Linked DNA regions of Homo sapiens: region 2 is linked to region 1. The links are contacts of gene promoters, found by promoter capture Hi-C in blood cells and fetal thymus (Javierre and others, 2016). All regions are on one chromosome and are shown on one strand. The core of a region is centred on a gene start or on the middle of the fragment in contact, and the rest is flanking DNA. Distances in the headings are between cores, read along the strand shown. Region 1 overlaps ABCC5 (ATP binding cassette subfamily C member 5). Region 2 holds the start of HTR3E-AS1 (HTR3E antisense RNA 1).

The links. The method cuts DNA at HindIII sites, captures the fragments that hold promoters and counts their contacts. A CHiCAGO score of 5 or more calls a contact.
Region 2: a contact is called between the fragment with the promoter of HTR3E-AS1 here and a fragment that was not itself captured in region 1, in 1 of 17 cell types (M1 macrophages). The highest score is 7.4, in M1 macrophages.

What each region holds. Positions count from the first base shown.
Region 1 is chr3:183,921,691-183,924,352 of GRCh38, reverse strand. All of the region lies in intron 29 of ABCC5 (ATP binding cassette subfamily C member 5), which reads left to right. Among named protein-coding and RNA genes, the nearest start is that of MIR4448, 36 kb to the right of the region's middle. The HindIII fragment of the contact is 3,947 bases long and covers 1-2,662 here.
Region 2 is chr3:184,103,823-184,106,484 of GRCh38, reverse strand. HTR3E-AS1 (HTR3E antisense RNA 1) reads left to right here and starts at 1,307. Exons shown (of 3, transcript NR_133658.1): 1 at 1,307-1,359; 2 at 2,097-2,325. HTR3E (5-hydroxytryptamine receptor 3E) reads right to left here. Exons shown (of 9, transcript NM_001256613.2): 4 at 2,194-2,303; 5 at 1,529-1,698; 6 at 1,058-1,218; 7 at 516-720; 8 at 142-357; 9 at 1-21. The HindIII fragment of the contact is 6,162 bases long and covers 1-2,662 here.

The DNA of each region.
Region 1 (2,662 bases), core at 115-2,614:
AAGTCTCAGGGAAAGTCCATAGGAAGTGGAGTAGGCCGGGCACGGTGGCTCATGCCTGTAATCCCAGCAGTTTGGGAGGCCGAGGCGGGCAGATTGCCTGAGCTCAGGCGTTCAAGAGCAGCCTGGGCAACATGACGAAACGCCGTCTCTACCAAAAATACAAAAAATTAGCCAGGAGTGGTGGCACACACCTGTAATCCCAGCTACTAAGGAATTTGAGGTGGAAGGATCATTTAACCCTGGGAGGCAGCGGAGGTTGCAGTGAGCTGAGATAGCGCCACTGCACTCCAGCCTGGGTGACAGAGTGAGACCTCATGTCAAAAAAAAAAAAAAAAAAAAAAAGCAAACAGTAAAAATTGGTGGGATTTAAAAAAAAAGGAAGCGGAGGAGATGGGACAGGACTCAGGCCAGCAACCGCACTGCCAGCACACTGTCTAAATTGTGGAGAAATATTGAGAAAAGGTTAAATAGCGCAGGTTCAGCCTGGGCTTCAAAGCTGAATTGAGAGAACTTGGGGGCTAAGGATTTTTCTCCTCATCTTGAAATTATTTTCACACTAGTGTTTTTTGTGACTATCTTTGTTTGCCTTAAACTAAGTGTTGACTGAGATTCTGTCATACATAAGATACGTTGAGCTACTACTTTGTAAGTAGGTGTTAAAATAGAGCCTAGTAAGGTATAATAGATGGGACCAAGAACATCTTCTGGGAAATTCTTTTTTTCTTTTTTTGAGCCAGAGTCTCGCTCTGTCGCCCAGGCTGGAGTACAGTGGTGCAATCTTGGCTCACTGCAACCTTCGCCTCCGGGGTTCAAGCGATTCTCCTGCCTCAGTCTCCTGAGCAGCTGGGAGTACAGGCATGTGCCACCATGCCTGGCTAATTTTTGTATTTTTAGTAGACACAGGGTTTCACCATGTTGGCCAGGCTGGTCTCGAACTTCTGACCTCAGATAATCCGCCCACCTCAGCCTCCCAAAGTGCTGGGATTACAGGCACAAGCTACTGTGCCCAGCTGGAAATTTTTTCTTAAGAACACAAATTGAGACCCCTTTCTTTCGATGGGTGGCTTGATGTTTTGGAGTGGGGAGCCCATTCACTCTTTATGAGGGACTCTATCCTTCTCTTCCCTTAATTTTTTTCTTGCTAATTAAAATTTCCTTGTAATTTCAGGAAAGCCTAAAAAAAAAAAACCACACACACACCAGAAAAGCATAAAGGCAAAAACAGGATGATAAGCCATTTACCCCCAGAGACGAGCATTGTAATACACTGACTTACCCCAGCTGTGTTTTTCTTGCATCTGCACACACAGACTCCAACAGATGGGATGCTCTCTGCCGCAGACACAAAATACCAGACTAAAAGGGGTTTGGAGGATGGGATTTTGTTATCCCACATGGGTTGGTTTTTGTGCAGCTCAGCAGTGTGGGGCTCTGTATCACTCTCAGCCAGTACTCACCTTCCCCTGCTGGTACAGGATGCCTGCTCAAGCACCCAACCAAAGGAAGGACACGTGTCCAAAGGAAGGACACGCTTATGTTCTCCTTGTGGCCTGTCCACTGAGCAGGACACCCTCTCCTAAAGCACCAAGGAGACTTCCTCTTACATCTCCTTAAACAAGGTTATGTTCCATGCCTTTGCCCTGTGGCGGGGGCGGCTGAGAAAGTTGAGTACATGCATTTCAGCCTCTGCCACAGGAGGTGGGTTCTGCCAGCGTATCATTCAGGGTTCTGCTGCCACATGATTTTCCACGGCTACATAGAAGTCCATCATAGGAATGGCCACCTGACTAAGTCACTCCCTGACTTCCTTTTTCTCCCCTGACAACTAGACATTCTGAGCTCTTCCATTTCCCTCTATAAGGTTAGATCAGCTTGCATAACAAAATGGCATTTGTCTGGTGTGCCCTTGACTTGAGCTGCAACTTCTCTCCCCTGCAGTTTATTTATTTTATTTTGTTTATTTATTTATTTATTTTTTTGAGACGGAGTTTCGCTCTTGTTGCCCAGGCTGGGAGTGCAATAGCACGATCTCTGCTCACCACAACCTCCGCCTCCCGGGTTCCAGCGATTCTCCTGCCTCAGACTCCCCAGTAGCTGGGATTACAGGCATGCACCACCACACCCAGCTAATTTTTGTATTTTCACTAGAGACAGGGTTTCACCATGTTGGTCAGGCTGGTCTCGAACTCCTGACCTCAGGTGATCCGCCTGCCTCGACCTCCCAAAGTGCTGGGATTACAGGCATCAACCACCGCACCCAGCCTGTTGTTTTTTATTTATTTATTTATTTATTTATTTATTTATTTATTTATTTATTATTTTGAGGCAGAGTCTCGTTGTGTCGCCCAGCCTGGCATGCAGTGGTACAATCTCAGTTCACTGCAACCTCCACCTCCTGGGTTCAAGCGATTCTCCTGCCTCAGCCTCCCAAGTCACTGGGATTGTAGGCACCCGCCAACCATGCCCAGCTAATTTTTGTATATTTAGTAGAGACAGGGTTTCACCATGTTGGCCAGGCTGGTCTTGAACTCCTCACCTCAGGCAGTCTGCCCACCTCAGCCTCCCAAAGTGTTGAGATTACAGGCGTGAGCCACCAGCCTCCTGCAGTTTATAGACCTGGTTGGTTGGTTCCTTCACTCCCAAGGCTGAAGGAATTTGGATT
Region 2 (2,662 bases), core at 58-2,557, 180 kb before region 1:
ATACCTCTGGCTCCTTCACACCTACAGAAAGACAGAGACTCAGCCATGGGCTGCAAATGTCACCTGTGGAGGGAGGGAGACAGGGAAGGAGGCAGGAGCAGAGAAGTGGAGGTGGGGGAAGAGGAATGTGACTTCCCTCACCGGGCAGGTGGGTGGGGGTGAGACCCGGGCCCTTATTTTCCTTCTGGGGCGCAGTGGGACAGCATCTCCCCGGGCTGTTGCAGTGGAGCAGCAGGGAGTGGAGCCACCGAGGCAGGGGTGGGGGCTGGGTGGTGGCCACGTGCAGCAGGTGGGTGATGAAGATGGTCTCCAGCAGGCTGCCCACCATCAGGGACAGGCACAGGGCGAAGTAGACACCTGGAGGGAAGGGGGGCCTAGTGAGGGCCAGAGGCACCACCTAGAATTTCTTCTCTTCCAATCCCACCCTGGCAGGCATACGGCCTCCTTTTTCCAAAATACCTCCCTTCCTGAGTTAGTTCCCACCCTTCTCTTCCAAAAGGTGGGAGGAGCCATACCGATGAGGGGGGTGCCACTGGTGGGGAGCAAGTCACTCATCATGAGCAGGAAGACGTTGTAGCCCAGCAGGAGCGTTATCTTGAATGGGACACGATTCCCACTTTTCACTGGCAGGTAGAAGCTGAGGGCATCGATGGCAACCAGAAAGCCACTGGGCACGAGAAGGTTTATGACATAGAGACTGGGCCTGCGCCTGATGGCCACCTGGTGGGGTAGGAGAGGGTGGTAAGTAGTTATGGGGTCAGAGGAACCCTCAAATCCAGGAATAGCAGTGACAATTTCTGTCTCTGCCTTTTTCTTTGGCCTGATATCACCCTGGGATCTGGAGCTGTGGGGAATGCAGCTTTAGAATCTGGTATAGAACCTGCAAAGAGACAGTTAGGCCAGAGCCCTGAGCTTTAGGATGAAGAATGAGGCTGGGAAGCCAGGAGAGAGGGTAACATTGGGAGACCCTGAAACTTGGGAGATACATATTTGATGGACATTCTAGGCAAGGGTAAAAGTGCGGGAGGAAGGAAAGAGTAAGAGCCTCCAAGCTCACATAGAACACGATCTGATCATACAGGTTGCCTCCCCTGGACAACTTTGCGGTGGCCTTGCTGAGGCCCAGGAGCTCCCATTCTCCATGGGTCTGAAGGATGTTCCGGGATGCGTCTGTTATTTCCCACACTTCTTTCTCCATGTCCAGCAACATGCTGTCCACTGAAAATGAGAACCATCTGAATCATTTTTCAAGGAGATAGTTTCCTGGTGGCTCAACTGCACTCTTTTTCCATCCTTTCTTTCAACAAATATTTTTGAGTGCCTCCCACATGCCAGGAAACTTGCCAGGAGCTTGGGATGGTAAGGAACAAGACAGACTTGGGTTCTGCCTTTATGGAAAATATTTTAGCATCCATAGAGCCTTATTCTTCTCCCCACCCATACTCCTTGGTCACCATTTACTCATAGTTTCTTTATATTTGTTGGTTGCTCTCATTCACCCCATCCCTGAGACCTCACTGCAACTTACCTGTGTAGAGGAATGAGCTGAAGGTGAGTGTGCAGTTCTGCTGGTCGAAGGGGAAGTAGAAGATGTCCAGGTTACAGATACTGTCCACCTTCATGGGTTTCTTATACCTGATGCGACCTTCATTACTTACATATGCTGTGAGGCCTTTTGGGGTCTTATCCACATCCATGCTGGAGGAGAGATAACGCAAGAGGCAGGTGCTGCAGTTTCTCTCTCTCTTTTTTTTTTTTTTTTTTTTTTGAGACAGGATCTTGCTCTGTCACCCAGGCTGGAGTAGAGTGGCATGCTCTCAGCTCACTGCAACTTCCATGTCCTGGGCTCAAATGATCCTCCTGTCTCAGCCTCAGCCTCCCAAGTAGCTGGGACTACAGGCGCACCACCAGGCCTGGCTAATTTTTTTTTTTTTTTTTTTTTTAAGAGATGAGGTTTCACCATGTTGCCCAGGCTGGTCTCAAACTCCTGAACTGAAGTGATCCACCCACCTTGGCCTCCCAAAGTGCTGGGATTACAGGCATTAGCCACTGCGCCTGGCTCAGTTTCTCTTCTTATCTCTCTGGTTGTTTCTTAGCCATCTAAAGACCACTTACAGTGGCCCCAATGGTAAACTGTGATCTCTGTGGCTACCAGGAGATGGGACTTCCCTCTGACCAGCCCTTGATACGCACAGTTCAATGATGAAAATGTCTGGGAGCCACAGGTTCTTGGCTGCCATACTCATCTTCGTGATGCCCTCACATTCCTCTGGGTTCCAGCTGATAAATGGGTTATCCCAAACCTAGAGCCCAGGTGGAGGAGAGGTGAGTCTCCTGCCTTTTAATTTCTTCTTTAAAAAAAAAAGTTATGAAATACTTCAAGCATATAGAAAAATATATAAAATGCTGTGACAAACATCTATGTATTTACAACCCAACTTTGTGGCATTAATATTTTATTAAATTTACTTGCTTTTTTTTCAAGAAATGAGAATTATAGATAAAATCGAACCTGCCTGGGACCATTCTTCATAAATTTTGATCAGCCAGCGCTGGTGGTCTGGGAACCACACTTTGAGAGTGAGGTTAGATGATTGTATTATCTTTCTCCAGCTCCTTCCTTCCTTTCCTCCAAGCAGGCTTTTCTTTTTTTCTTTTTTCT